Regions from separate parts of the Homo sapiens genome. Here all the other regions are linked to region 1. Evidence: promoter capture Hi-C in 16 types of primary human blood cells and fetal thymus (Javierre and others, 2016). All regions are on one chromosome and are shown on one strand. Each heading gives the region's core, a stretch centred on a gene start or on the middle of the fragment in contact. The rest is flanking DNA. Distances are from core to core; before and after follow the strand shown. Region 1 holds the start of H4C16 (H4 histone 16). Region 2 overlaps PTPRO (protein tyrosine phosphatase receptor type O). Region 3 overlaps PTPRO (protein tyrosine phosphatase receptor type O).

Region 1 (4,957 bases), core at 2,056-4,555:
GCTCAGAACAGATGGCACCTGTGCTCTTTGAAGATACCCATACACTTGGCTGACAAAATTTGTCCTTTTGTATACCAATAGCATTTGATTTATACCACTCTATTAGAGCAAACCATATGTGTACAACTACACGTCTTTCCCCTTTCTCTCCTAGAAAAATAGGAGTTTCTTGATGGCAGTAACTTGCTCATTTATCTCTGAATATTCAAAATATGCTTGGAAAAGAGGCATTAAACAAATGTTCAAAATTCAAAAGGGATGACTTTGCTACAGGATCAAATTTCAATGCATTCCATTCACTTTACATTTTATAATTCTTATTTTATGTAGAGATGGGGTCTCACTATGTTGGCCATGCTGGTCTCAAACTCCTGGCCTCCAGCAATCCTACTGCCTCAGCCTTCCCAAAGTGCTGGCATTATAGCCACCCCCACCCCGCCCCCCTCATTCACATTTTAAGTGAGGCATTACAGAGTTTTAAATCAAGTTCTTTAACATTTTTAGTAAGCAATTTTACTATTAATAGTAAACTTCAGAAAATCTTGATCGTTTTCAGTTTGAGATATTCTGTTCAGTTATTGAACCGTGTGACCCAGTTTTGGTTTGGAAGATATGATTACTGTCAGGACTGGGTACTTACTATACCATAGGACTCAGAGTCACAGACAAAAATAAATATTTCTTGGGTTTAGATAATTAGGTTATATTTTATAAAGAACAAAACACAAACAAAAAAATAACTATGCTACAAGGGAAAATATAAGTTCTATTCTAATCAAAGAATTGAGACCACTACAAAAATAAAAAAAAACCCCAAAACCATGAAATATTTAAACAATTCCATATAAGTTAAATACTTAAGGAAGAGTTTTAATTGTCATACAAATATCTACAGTATTTCTATCCTCCATCGGGGCCCTAACTTTCATCCTTAATTTATGTGAAACCCAAAATCACTCATTTGGTCATGCAACAAATATCGAGGGCACGAAAGTATGCCAGACTCTATTTCTTTTAAGTAACTCAATTTTTCACTTGCATTAAAGAAAATTGAACTTCTCCGAGTGTCTCACTGTCTTAGAAATTAAACTAACACCAGTATTGTGTACTCACTTGAAGTCTTTATGGAGTAGGAGAAAGTACTTAGAAATGACACGTCAGCAAAAAGGAACAGGGGAGCCTTCCTGGCAGAAGAAGAGGCAAATGTCAAGATCTAGCGGTGCGGAATCCTTCGCCAGCTGGGTTCCAATCTTGACTCCAGTTCTTTAACCCCTGGGGCTGGGAAACTCCCTTAGAGTGACTTCAGCCCACCGCACCAAGGAAGCTATATGACTTCTTCATGTTTAGAATAGCTAGAGCAAGACCAAGCGTGGTGGCTCACGCCTGAAATGCCAGCACTTTGGGAGGCGGAGGCGGGTGAATCACTTGAGGCCAGGAGTTCAAGACCAGCCTGGCCAACATGGTGAAACCCCGTATCTACCAAAAAAAAAAAAAATACAAAAATTAGCCAGGCGTGGTGGCGCAGGCCTGTAATCCCAGCTACTCCGGAAGCTGAGGCAGGTGAATCGCTTGAACCCGGGAGGCGGAGGCGAGATCGTGCCACTGCACTCCAGCCTCGGTGGCAGAGCTAGACTTGGTCTCGAAAAGAAAGGAAAAAAGAAAAGGTAGAGAAGGGGCAGATTAGTTAACGCGGCATGGATCACACCGCATCCTGGGGTGCCAAGCCTAATGAGAAGTTAGGAAGGACAGAGCCAGGAGTAGAGCGAGGCTGTTATACGGAGCTTTACCGGAGGCCGGGGCGACCCCTACGGCCTGGACGCAGGCTGATCACCAGGTCTTCCGCCCCCTACCCTCGCCTACTGGAAAGTGCGCTTAACTGGTAGCACCAGCCCCACCTTTCTCCAAGACCCTCACTACACCCCGGGAGTACCGGGTAGGACCACGCGCTTGGTAATCCCACAGCTGTCTCTCTTACATTCTCACTGAACTTATTAGAACCTAACCCGCCACCCGTTTCCCTTCTAGACCCCCAGGCTGCTCTGAACAGGGCCTTTACTCGGAAGCCAGGGCTTACCTCCCGGCTGCGATAGGGTTATTTGTGATGGGCATGACACTGCTCGGAGCGGGGGATTCCCGGCAACTTGGCGACCTGCAGGTGATCTGGCCTTTCATGCCGGCGTGACCCCCACTGCCTGCCTGCCAACTCCACGCCCGCCGCCAGGTGGCCGAGCAGGACGCTACCCGCTTGGCGTAGGCAACTTTACGCAGCTGGCTAAGAGGGAATCGCAGGGTGTCGCGAGTTTCGCCCGGCCGCCTTAATCTCAGCATCTGAGCTTGGTCACCTCTCACTCAACGTCAGCGATTAAGTAAAATAGTACCCAGTAAGACTACGCGCCACACTAGAGCTGCATTCAGCTTTCGGGCTTGCAGGTAGCGGCGTGCTGCGACCTCCCATTTCCTGCGACTTAGCAAGCCCTGCACACGCACGAACCGCCCTTGACGCGTGACGCTCACCCCTGAAGGCCAGCAGGAAGTCACCTAAGCCCTGATTTACATGGAAGCCATCCGATACGTGCTTATGGGCCAACGACTCGGCCGCTTAGAAGACCATGACCAGTTCTAACACTAGGGCTTTGTACAAGCACTCTTCTAAACAAAATCCGGTGTCTGGATTTTGGGAGGTCACTACTGCGTTGCGCGGCACCTCCAGGGTCGTACCTAAGCACAGGCGGAACCCCCTCCTTGAGGTCTAGTTCTCCCCGTGCCCGCCAAGTCTAATCCCGAGCAGATGCTCGGGCCGCGAATATCCCATTTCCGGTATCCGGAAGGCGACATCAAAGGGTTGATATTTACCCGTTATCTAGGAAGTGTTAACAGCTCTTTCTGTGACAGTTTGGGGGCCCTGAAAAGGGCCTTTTGGAGTCTGTAGAGAAGCTGTGGGGACAGCTCAACCGCCGAAACCATAAAGGGTGCGACCCTGGCGTTTCAGCGCGTACACCACATCCATGGCCGTGACGGTCTTGCGCTTGGCGTGCTCCGTGTAAGTCACCGCGTCACGGATCACGTTCTCCAGGAAGACTTTGAGGACTCCCCGGGTCTCCTCGTAGATGAGACCAGAAATGCGCTTGACGCCCCCACGTCGGGCGAGACGGCGAATCGCCGGCTTTGTAATGCCTTGGATATTGTCCCGCAGCACCTTCCGGTGGCGCTTGGCGCCTCCCTTACCCAGCCCCTTGCCACCTTTACCTCGCCCAGACATTCTGAAATCACAGCGCCTACTCAGCAGAAAATCGGGCTGCCCACTGTGATTGCCAGTCGCAGACCAGGGCTTATAGTCTCTCGATGCGGACCTGTTTGAAAACATCAAAAAAGTGGGCGGAGCTCTAGGCCCCACCTCTGGAGACATGCTATAGTTGTTAAGTCCAGGAAGCAGTCAGCGAAACCAGCCTGATTTTTTTGTTGTTTGCTCTTTTGGGAAAATTTTTTCTGATGTTTGGAGAAAGGTTCATGGTGATACGTTTTAAAGTTAAAACAGTATGAGCTAAAAGAATTTATATTGCCTTTTCTCAGCGCTTAAATAAAAGTAGGCCAGATCCTATGCACGTTCCTTGTTCTGTCCCTCCCTCCTTCTGTTTTTTCAAACGGAATTCCTGACTTACTATGAAACTCTATAAAAACCTGAAAAGCTTTACATCCGAGATTTCAAAGCAATTACTTAAAATTTAAAATTTTTCACACGTGGGTCTTCTGAAGACATAGTAGGGGGAGAGGACTTTTTTCTCTTTTACGGCCCTGCAGATAATTAAAATTCTTTCAATTGAAAAAAGAAAGTGCAGCTTCCCGTCCCCCACCTACACTCCACCCCCACCTCCCCCCGACCCCCGCCATTCCCCTTTCAGCTGCTTCTGCGCAATTTGCAGGTTTTCCTGCCCTGCAAGAGCCTGTGTGCTTTTCAACCAAGTAACTTCCTGTGGTTATTTAGTTGAAATATTGTCAATGTCTTATGTCATTCAAATCTCAGGTTCTCATCTCACATTTTCCACTTAAAAATTCAAAGTTCTTGTAAAACAATGGATGCCACAATCATGACTTGGAATAATGATTTCTACTGCAAATCCCCTCAGGAGGTTCTGAATCCCTTCCTTTCTCAAGAGAATCCCTGAACAAAAACGAAAGTTTCTGTAAGGTGTCACCGCTCTTCAAAGGTGTCAGGACCCTGTCTTCTCTAAAGGTTTTACTGTGTTAAAAAGCAGCTGTTATTTAGAGGATGAGTCATAAGTCTTTCCCAGGTAGTTAATTAGGATTCTGAGCAATGAATTTTAGTAAGTGGGGCTTCTTTGTCCCTGGTCTTGAAGATAAGCCTTTACAGCAGGAAGACTTTATGGTAAAATTTTGTTATATTTATAAATGCCTATAGTTTACATTTGTTTCAATCCATGCCCATCTTCATAACCCAAAAGGTATTTATTTTTCTTTTACTTTTTGTTAAAGATAAAAGAGTTGGAACACTGTCTTGAATGGCTGGAAAAAGTCCTGAATGGTCGAACTTCACTCATGATTTTAATATTTGACTCAGAGGGAAGAGGAAAAGTCTATCAGATCTTGAAGAGATAAGAATTATTGTAATGGGGCCGGGCGCGGTGGCTCACGCCTGTAATCCCAGCGCTCTGGGAGGCCGAGGAGGGCGGATTACGAGGTCAGGAGATCGAGACCATCCTGACTAACATGGTGAAACCCCATCTCTACTAAAAATACATAAAAATTAGCCGGGCGTGGTGGCGGGCGCCTGTAGTCCCAGCTACTCGGGAGGCTGAGGCAGGAGAATGGCGTGAACCCGGGAGACGGAGCTTGCAGTGAGCCGAGATCGCGCCACTGCACTCCAGCCTGGGCGACAGAGCGAGACTCCGTCTCAAAAAAAAAAAAAAAAAATTATTGTAATGGTAAAATCGGTTGACTT
Region 2 (4,957 bases), core at 1,023-3,522, 780 kb after region 1:
AAAGTATAAGTGGGAAAATTAGAGGTTAATGAAAGGTCTGGAATGATGCTGTTTATTTCCTTATTCTTTTCTTAGTTGTATTACATGTGTTACTCCTGGTTTGTTAGAGTCTGATTCTGCAACCTGAGACCCTCTATGAAGCCTCTTGTAATAAAGTCACTCATAACTTCACTGGTTTAGTTCCATTTCTGTAATATTAGTCATATATTTAGCTGCTAAATTCAGGGATGACTGGAGCGGACTGTTTTCTTTTTTCTTTTTCTTTTTGGTTTTCTGTTTTTAATTTTTGTTTTTTCAGAAGAGAGGACAAAAAATATACCTGCAAAGTATTTTAATGGTCTCTCATTCCTACATCCTTGTACACTTTCTAAAATATACAGTTGACGATGAATAATGAGAGACTTAGAAGTGCCAACCTCTGCATAGTTGAAAATCCATGTATAATTTTTGACTCCCTCAAAACTTAACTACTCATAGGCTACTGTTGACCTGAAGTCTTACCAATGATATAGACAGTTGATCAACACATTTTTGTATGTTATACTTATTATATATTGTATTCTTACAATAAAGTAAGCTAGAGAAAAGAAAATGTTATTGAGAAAATCGTAAGGAAGAGAAAATATATGTACTATTCATTAAGTGGAAGCAGATCTTCATAAAGATCTTCCTCATGGTCTTCACATTGAGTAGGCTGAGGAGGAGGAGGAAGAGGAGGGTTTGGTCTTGCTGTCTCAAGGGTGGCAGAGAGTAAAGATAATCCATATATATGTGAACCTGCACAGTTCAAACTCATTTTGTTCAAGGGTCAACTGTACCTTAATGTCCATCATTCCTTGTCAGCTCCATGACAATGTAGCATAACAGGTGATATTATTAAACTTATTTATAAATGAGGAAAATGAGGCCCATAGGGCAGATGAAATGGCTTCTCTCCAAATAGCAGTACTCAAGCGAAAAAGCTCTTCTGATCATGCGTCCATTGTTCTTTCTGTTTAAGCACTCTACTCATAAACTGGAGCCAAGCTGGCCCAAATGGGAAGTGGTAAATACCCAGAACCTTAGGGATCAGATGCACCTGCTCATTCTGTGACTTTATGATCAATGCAAAAGATGGTATGAGTCCTCAGGCCCATTTTAAAGAGTTTTATAAGAATATTAAACCTATGTTCCTGCCTTTGATATCCTGTTCTTCCGTGTAGTATGAAGAAGTAGACAATGTGTAAGTGCCACAGGAGACAAGTCTTTATATAGAGTACATGAAAAGGACGTGACCCCTGTTCTTCAGGGCCCTACAACCTATTAATAGGTTTTATCTCTTGAGCTGTGCAGATGGAAAACCCCTAAACATATGGCCACGGATCATCAGAATGTCTGCTTCTAGTAATGTGTTAAGTGCTTCAGCAGATGGTAGTTTGCTAATGTCTTTTTGATATACATTATTAGTTGTAAGCAAAGTATACAGTTGTGCTTTCTGACTTCAAAATCATGGGCGTAAAATAAGAGGTTGCCACCCTCTAAGCTTGTGAAAATGTTAAAAAACGATAATGCATGGTAATGACTTCCACATTTTTAGCTTTCAAATGAATTTAAACTGTGGCACAGGTATTCTTCATTCTTTAGTTTCCCTATGTAAGAATATCCTGAATGTTGTAGGCCTTTGAAAGGGACTCAATTCTTCCAGACACCTCAATACCACTTATCAGTCTAGTTTGCTAAGTTACAGTTGACCAGGAAGAGGTCATTGCTGGCTTGGGGAACATGATTGTTACTATTATTGGTATCATCGTAAGCTCACTGCCCTTAAGACTAGATGAAAAGCAATGAATGGTTCTGTTTGGTTCCCTGTAAGAGAACCTATGATGAAAATGCACAACTTATCTCTTTAGTTACAGAGATGAATCCCAATGTGGTAGTGATCTCCGTGCTGGCCATCCTTAGCACACTTTTAATTGGACTGTTGCTTGTTACCCTCATTATTCTTAGGAAAAAGCATCTGCAGATGGCTAGGTAAGTTAAGTTTTACTAATATTTTATCCGGAATCTTTAAAATATCTTTATCTGCCATATATATATTGTTTTTGCACACCTAAGTTGTATAGCGGTATATTGGATTTTAGTTTTCAGTGTCTGTTTCTATTGTGTGTGTTTTCTAAATAGACTTCGAAACATTATATTGGAAAATATTACCATTGAAATGAGAAAGCAAAGGATTGCTTGTTTACACAAAGTCAGACCTCTTGCTATCAATCTTGGCATTTGAAGTAGCCCATATATGGAGATCCATTACATTTGGGTACTTTCATACACATTTGGAATAAAAGAAATATCTATGACAGTTCAGTATAGTTAATGAAAAAAGTTAATAAAAATGGAGATGACAAGAAAGAACGGGGTGGGGGGCGGGAAATCCTCTCCATAATTTTAAGCTGTTCTATTGGAAAATATTTGTACAGTTTATGATTAGGTCCATTAGCAGTCTCTATTAGTTTTATTCCTATTACTCAGAGTTGCAGCCAGCTTAGTTTTTCTTGCAATTAGAAAAGCCTTTGATTTATGATTTCAGCTCTTCCCTGTTCCTTTGACCACTGATGCATTGCTCATCAGAGCACATTCTCAAGTAGTTTCTGTGGCCCCCTGTATTATCAGAATAATCTATCAATTCCCTTAAAAACTGTTGCTTATTTGAATACTACTTGGTTTGGGAAATTTTGTTAACATTTATATTTGCCCAATATTAACCTGCTGAATTATAAATTAACATTCTTCTCCTGTCTCAGAGTTCTATCACTCACATATTTATAAATAAATTCATCTATCCAATAGTGATCTAATCAGTGCCTGACATGGCATATCCAAAGAAAAATCAGACATCAAAGCTGTCCACTAGGAGCTTACTTACCTAACTGGATATATGAATAGATAGATATATTTAAAGGCATAAGCTGACATGTAGCATAAAGGGGATTAAAAACAGGATGCCATGAAACTAGAGAATAAAGACTAATTCTGAATGTGAAAATAAGCTTCTTGAAGGTTGGCATTTGAATAATCTTAAAAGGATAAGAAGAGATGTGGGATTGCACTGTAACTACAGTGGAGAGCTCTGAAATTACACTCCTTGAGGTCAAATCTTTTTTTTTTTTTTTTTTTTTTGAGACAGAGTCTCACTCTGTCGCCCAGGCTGGAGTGCAATGGTGCCATCTTGGTTCACTGCAAGCTCTGCTTCTCAGGTTCAAGCGATTCTTCTGCCTCAGTCTCCTGAATAGCTGGGATTACAGGCACGCACCACTAGGCCTAGTTAATTTTTGTATTTTTAGTAGACACAGGGTTTCACCATGTTGGCCAGGCTTGTCTCGAACTCCTGACCTTAAGTAATCTGCCCACCTCAGCCTCCCAAAGTGCTGGGACTATAGGCGTGAGTCACCATGCTCGGCCTCCTTGAGATCGAATCTTGACTTCCAACTTGCGTGAATTTGTGTAGGTCACTGAAACTTCATGCGTTCATATTACAAATATTGCTACATATATGACAGTATATGAAACAGACAAAAATATGTGCCTTCATGGAGCTCATATTCTAGTGGGAGAAATAGACAATAAACAATAAAGATATAAGTAAAAGGACTGCCCCTTAAGTTAGCAGGTGATAAGGAAAGGAAACAAGGTCAGGTAAGGGAGATAAGCAGTACCAGTGTGGTGTTAGGGGTCCTAGGAGGTGGGTAGGCTTCACTGAAATAATGGCATTGGAGCAGAGACTTGAAGCACATGAGGGAGGTAGCCTGTGTTATCTGTGGGAAGAGTGTGCCCAGTGGCAAGAACAGCTGGTGTAAAGGCCCTGGGGTAGGAGCACGACTGGGATGTTCAAAGTGTAGCAGAGGGGCCGTTGTGACTAAAGCGGAGGAAGACAAGAGTAGAAGGAGATGTCAAGTTATGCAGGGCTTCGTATGCCTTTGGAAGGACTTTGGCTTTTACTCAGTAAAATGAGCAGGCATTGCAGGCTCTGGAGCAGAAGATTAACAGCATCTGACTTAGATTTAACACTTTCATTTTGACTTTTATGTAGAAAACAGGCTGTATTGAGGCAAGGACAGAGACAGGCATATCAACTGTGGTAGCCAGGAATCCAGGCAAGAGATGCTAATAGTTCAGTCCAGAGCAGCAACACTGAAGGCAGAGAGAAGCCATCAGATTCTGGACATATTTTGAAAATAGGAGCAACAGGATTTGCTAATAAGTTGATATGGAATGGAAATGAAAAAAGGAGTTGAGGCTATAATCCCAGCACTTTGGGAGGCTGAGCCAGGTGGATCACCTGAAGTCGGGAGTTCGAGACCAGCCTGACAAACATGAAGAAACCCTGTCTCTACTGAAAATACAAAATTAGCTGGGCGTGGTGGCACATGCCTGTAATCCCAGCTACTCAGGAGGCTGAGACAGGAGGCAGAGGTTGCGATGAGCCGAGATTGCGCCATTGCACTCCAGCCTGGGCAACAAGAGTGAAACTCCATCTCAAAAAACAAATAAACAAAAAAAGAGAGTTGAGGCTAACTCCTGGGTTTTTGGCCCAAGCACTTGAAAGGATGGAGCTGCCATCAACTGAGAGAGGATTCCAGGTCAGAGTTGGGGGAACATCAAGACTTCAGTTTTGGAAATTGTATTAGTCAGAGTTCTCTAGAGGGTCAAAACTAATAGTACATAGTAGTATATATATATCCTATTAGATATTATATATAGATATAGTGTGTGTGTGTATATATATATATATCTCCTATTATATATTATACATAGATATAGGTATATGGGAGTTTATTAAGTATTAACTTCCACGATCACAAGGCCCCACAGTAGGCTGTCTGCAAGCTTGAGGAGAAAGGAGAGCCAGTCTGAATCTCAAAACTGAAGAACTTGGAGTCCAATGTTGAAGGGCAGGAAGCGTCCAGCACAGGAGAAAGAT
Region 3 (4,957 bases), core at 1,556-4,055, 760 kb after region 1:
TCAACACAACAAAAAGTTGGTTATTTAAAAAGATAAAATCAACAAACCTTTAACTAGACTGAGAAAAAAAGAGAGAAGACCCAAAGAAATAAAATCAGAAACAATAAAGTAGGCATAATAAGAGACCTCATAAATACAAAGAATCATGAGAGACTACTATGAACAGCTATAAACCAACAAATTGGAAAACTAGAAGAAATGGATAGATTCCTGAACACACCTAATGAGACTGAACAATTAAGAACAAGAAAACCTTAATGAACCAATAATGAGCAGTGAGATGAAAGTCATAATAAAGTCTCCTACCAAAGAAAGCCCAGGTCCTGATGGCTTGACCCCTGAATTTCACCAGACATTTAAAGAAGGACTAATGCCAATCCTGCTCAAACTTTTCAAAAAAGCTGAATAGGAAGGAATACTTCCAAATTCATTCTGTAAGATAATATGCCAAGAAAAATAATAGGCTGTGGATAAGGAAAAACAGATACTTTAACATTCTTGCAAATGAACTGGATCTTTTTGTGTAGTGTAATGTCAAAATAATTCTTTATATTATGACATACAGCTGGAAAGTGACTGTGTAGCATACAACTGGAAAGTGACTGTGTAACACAAAACACATCTTCTACATTCAAAAATTGACCATTTATTGCGGTATACATTTAGTTTCTGATACTTATAGGGAAACTCGAAGACAGTATCCTAAAATCTGCCACAGACAATGGAGGATGGATTGACACAAAGTTGTGTGATAGACCTTTAGAGACAGTATGACCGAAAGAGTGGCAACCCAAAACTAAATGCATAATTTCAATATGTAATTTTCACAGCAGAGATTTTATAATTTTCATATTTCAAAAATTAAGTTTATCTAATGGCAATAAAAGTGTTTTCCACATAGTTAATGCAATTTAGTGACATCATTTTTTAAGATGTCTGCTAATTTTTGTGTCTGAATTTGTTCATAACAGTCTCAAGCCATCTCTGTTATTACATGTGTTCATATTAGCAGCTGTAAGTAAAGACTAATTCGTGGTTGTTTTATTAGTAGCTTAAATACCATGGGTAGTATTGTTGGCAGTGATGTACTTTTAGAAAAATTTTAGAAAATCTAAAAAACAAAAAATACGATCTTTCCTCAATTTACCCAGTAATTGCATTTCTCCAGAACTCAATGCATAGGTCACTGAGTCTTAAATTTCTTTGTCTCCTATTTGCCAAGACAAAAGCTAAGTTTTTGTGCTGAAATACTTTAAAATTGTATAGGTAATTTGGAAATATGTGATGTGTTGATTAGACACTATGGAAGTAAAAATTATAATATTGAATAATTTATAATTTTAAATACTATCTTAATTGGATTTAAATATGCCTTTTCATGACAACTTTCTTCTAAATTATTTTACTTAATTTCTTTTTAAAAACTTTCAATATTATGTAGCAAAGTACTTGCAATTTACACTTATGGTGGATTTTCTCTGGTATGACATTTGAAAGTCATGTGGGATGTGGGACATGGGACAATTTGTCTTTTGGTGTCCTCTTAATAATTCCAGGACGGCTAGCATTTCTAAGTCCTGACCACAAAAGAACAGCTAATTCCCTCTGCTGTGACTAATAAAAACATTCCTCCAAACTTTCAAACACCCTCAAGGGGGCACTAGTGCCCCAATTGAGGATCAAGGGTTGTCTCTTACCTTTCCTGCACTGAAGGCAATCTGCTCTTCCTCCCTTGTGGTCTATACTTAAATTCTACGAATGTGGAGAGCACCAACTTCCAACTTTGCATAATCTTTCTATTAAGAAAAAAGTTGCCTGTCTACCAATTCCAGCCATTATCTCTGACTCTGACCTCTGTGGGTGTAAAGGGCCGTTCAAAAACTCATTTCCAGGTAACTGTAATTACTTGAAGATTGAGCTCATATTCCCAATGTCTTCCTTTTTCCAAGCTTTACTAATACAGGAAGCTATTAAGTGTTTCTCAGGTCCTAGCAGCTTTCTCCAACTCATTTGGTTTTTCAGTCTCCCTTAAAATTTAAGTTCAGAGGTGGTCTTATCAAAGTAGCATTTAGTGGGCCTATTGGATACTTCACTGAAATTTCTATGTGACATCATGGTCGAAGGTGCCTCAGGAATATGAGTCAAAGTCATGAACTAGTACAACTGTATCTACATAGGACTGTGAGTTAAAACCATGATAGTTTCCCAAACTTATCAAAATGTTTGGAGTCTCCATGTCTCCCTGATAATAGAATGGACTATGTAAACCAGCTTGGAAAATTTATTTAAACTTTACAAGAAGGAAAGTTGAGTTTTCATGGAAATTATTTCTAGTTAATGTAACCCTTAGGATCAATAACCTTTTTCTTATTGGTATCTTAAATATCAAATGGAATATTGTTTCTATCTTATTCCTCTCTGTAGACAAGACAATCTTTTTATGATGTGCCTTTCTTATTTTCTTGAAAACATATAATGTTGGTTTTTATCCTTTAGTCAAAAGATCTGTTCTACTAATCATGTTATTGTGTATATAAGCCCTTTCCATTTTATATAACACAATGCCTGAACACCTATAACTGCTTAACAGATACTGTTGAATGAATTGAAATTGCGGACCTCAAAGTTGAACATAGTATTGCAGTTAATATTTAATCGGAACAAGTTTAACCTTTCAGAGAAGTGAAATAATATCTTGCTTTAGTAGTACCTGAATTGCAGGTTTTGTGTGTGTTTGTGTGTGTTTTTTACAGAACTTTCATTCTAGTTGTTTTATGTTTCTTCCCAGCATTCATTTTGATATATATAGAAGTCATAGTCATTCTCCTTTAAAGAAAAATACAACTTTGGCACAGATTTTTCAGAGCATGTTTGAATCAGAATGCCATTGTTAAAGCTGGGGCCGTAACTGGTTGGGCTAACCTGCAGTTCAATTTATCTATAATAGAGGCCTCTTTAGAATGCCTCTGAATGACTCCTGTGTCATGGAGGGTAGGTTCTACCTCTATAGAAAGAAACCAAACTACCAATGAGTCCAGTATCATATAAATTAATCTAATGTGTCATGTGCAAGGGTAGAGAGCCCTCAAACAGTTGCCAATAATTCTCAACATTGTATCATCAATAAACATCCATAAAAAGAAATGCACCAATAATGGTGCTTTTCCCAGGATGTTGAACCAACCATCCCATTAGGAATTTTAGGTTGCCAGCAGTTTCACGAAACTTTGGTGGTATGTGGTGACAGGTCCCTTTGACAGTCAGTCATTACTATCTTCTAGTCTTGGTGAATCAACCTGGATCCCTGGGCCAACTTTAAGAGGACATGTTAAGTCTACATAAGATAATCAGTTTCCCAACCTTAAAAAAAAGAAAAAGAAAGGAAAGAAAAAACAGGAATGAGACGTGTTGGACACATCACAAATAGCTCTCTGGTAATAGAATATCCATTCATCAATCCATTTAACTAATATATATTAAGAACCTTCTAAGTACTACTCAGATGCCAGAGTACTTGTGGTAGTCGTGATGGTAATGAACCCAGAGCGCTACTTTCACTTTCTGTTCACAAGGAGCTTATGATCTAGTGAAGGGGAAGATGGTAATAGTGCTGTACAGTGCTCTACAACAGGGAAATGTGGTGCAGAATGACTGTGTGGTCAAAGCTTTCTTTGAGGAAGCCATGGAGGCTATGGTCTGAATAACAAGAAGAACCAGCCACAAAAAGGCCAAGAAGGAGGATGCCAGACAGAGGGAACAGGCAGGCCTGAGTATAGATCTTTTAAGGCATGCAGTTGGAATATTATCTTCAGAGTAATGAAGGGCCATTTAGAGAACTTAAAATAAACAGTCCGATTTACATTTAAAACAATCCCTCTGGTTGCTTAATGAGAAAGGGATTATTGTATCAACAATGAAAGTAGGGGAACTAATTAAGGGGCTATTTGTGCCAGCTTTAAAAATTATATTCTAATTCAAAGAAGTTGCAAGAGAGTGATGGTAACTTTGACTACGGTGGTTGTAATGGAGATGAAGAGAAGTGGACAGAATTCAGGAGCTCTTTTGGAGGTTGTGTCCACAGAACTTTCTGATACGGCAGAAACACGAAGTGAGGGAAAGGGAAATTAATGACTCCCAGGCTTCACCCTTGAGCAACTAGGACAAATGGTGGCGCAATTCACTGAGATTGAGATGACTAGTAAAACTACAGGAGGAGGACATTTAGGGTGAAGTAAGAATCAAGGATTCTTCTTTGGATGTAAACAAATTTAAAATGATTATTGGATATCCCGGTGCAGATGTGAAGGCCAGGGGAGAATTCTGGGCTGGAAATATAAATTTGGAAGTGTCTGGATGAAATCACCAAGTAGTAAGTAAAGACAGGGAAGAAAAGAGAAGCCCTGGATCAACTCTAGAGGAGCCACCCCAGCAGTTAGAAATTCAGCTTAGCAGGAAGCATCAGAAAGAGAGAGTGGAAAGGAACAGCTAAGGAGGTCAGAGAAAACAAAACAAAACAAAACAAAAACAGAATTGCACACCACCATCATCAAACTTATGCTTTATCCTGACCACAGACATGTTCGGGCACGTTCGAGATAAGGAATCATATAACTTTAGTGCTAGGAGAGCTTTTGGAGATAATTCAGTGCTATGTCCTCATTTGAACAAGCTGGCGCTTAGAGAAATGTGACACGCTTTATACATTGCTAGGTCTTGGTCCAGAAACAGTCATTTCGTACTTTTTATCCATCTGCTGCTTCTATTCCTGGACTGGGGTGTGGCCTTTTTCCTTCAAACTTCATTTTTTCTATTAAAAAATTTAACAGAACAGGGAGGAGCCTCATACCCACTTTTGTGACTTTCCGTTCCTCTTTGGAATTTGGTCTTAGGGACATTGGCTTGATTTTCTTAATCTTACTCATACAAACCTTTATAGAGATTAGAAATCTTTAAAACA

The links. The method cuts DNA at HindIII sites, captures the fragments that hold promoters and counts their contacts. A CHiCAGO score of 5 or more calls a contact.
Region 2: a fragment that was not itself captured here is called in contact with the fragment with the promoter of H4C16 in region 1 in 3 of 17 cell types (non-activated CD4 T cells, M2 macrophages and naive CD4 T cells); the score reaches 9.0 in non-activated CD4 T cells.
Region 3: a contact is called between a fragment that was not itself captured here and the fragment with the promoter of H4C16 in region 1, in 8 of 17 cell types (non-activated CD4 T cells, M1 macrophages, total CD4 T cells and 5 more). The highest score is 9.7, in non-activated CD4 T cells.

Annotation. Positions count from the first base shown.
Region 1 is chr12:14,767,826-14,772,782 of GRCh38, forward strand. H4C16 (H4 histone 16) reads right to left here and starts at 3,306. Exons shown (of 1, transcript NM_175054.2): 1 at 2,895-3,306. The coding sequence starts at 3,259. The coding sequence ends at 2,948. LOC105369669 reads right to left here and starts at 2,832. Exons shown (of 3, transcript XM_047429947.1): 1 at 2,075-2,832; 2 at 1,114-1,184. The coding sequence starts at 2,328. RefSeq lists enhancers at 1,932-2,527, 2,528-3,124, 2,789-3,118. The HindIII fragment of the contact is 13,886 bases long and covers 1-3,684 here.
Region 2 is chr12:15,549,662-15,554,618 of GRCh38, forward strand. PTPRO (protein tyrosine phosphatase receptor type O) reads left to right here. Exons shown (of 27, transcript NM_030667.3): 15 at 1,890-2,010. All of the region lies in intron 1 of LOC105369672 (a long non-coding RNA gene), which reads right to left. Among named protein-coding and RNA genes, the nearest start is that of PTPRO, 230 kb to the left of the region's middle. The HindIII fragment of the contact is 1,504 bases long and covers 1,521-3,024 here.
Region 3 is chr12:15,530,922-15,535,878 of GRCh38, forward strand. All of the region lies in intron 12 of PTPRO (protein tyrosine phosphatase receptor type O), which reads left to right. Among named protein-coding and RNA genes, the nearest start is that of PTPRO, 210 kb to the left of the region's middle. RefSeq lists enhancers at 3,537-3,626, 4,042-4,957. The HindIII fragment of the contact is 1,716 bases long and covers 1,948-3,663 here.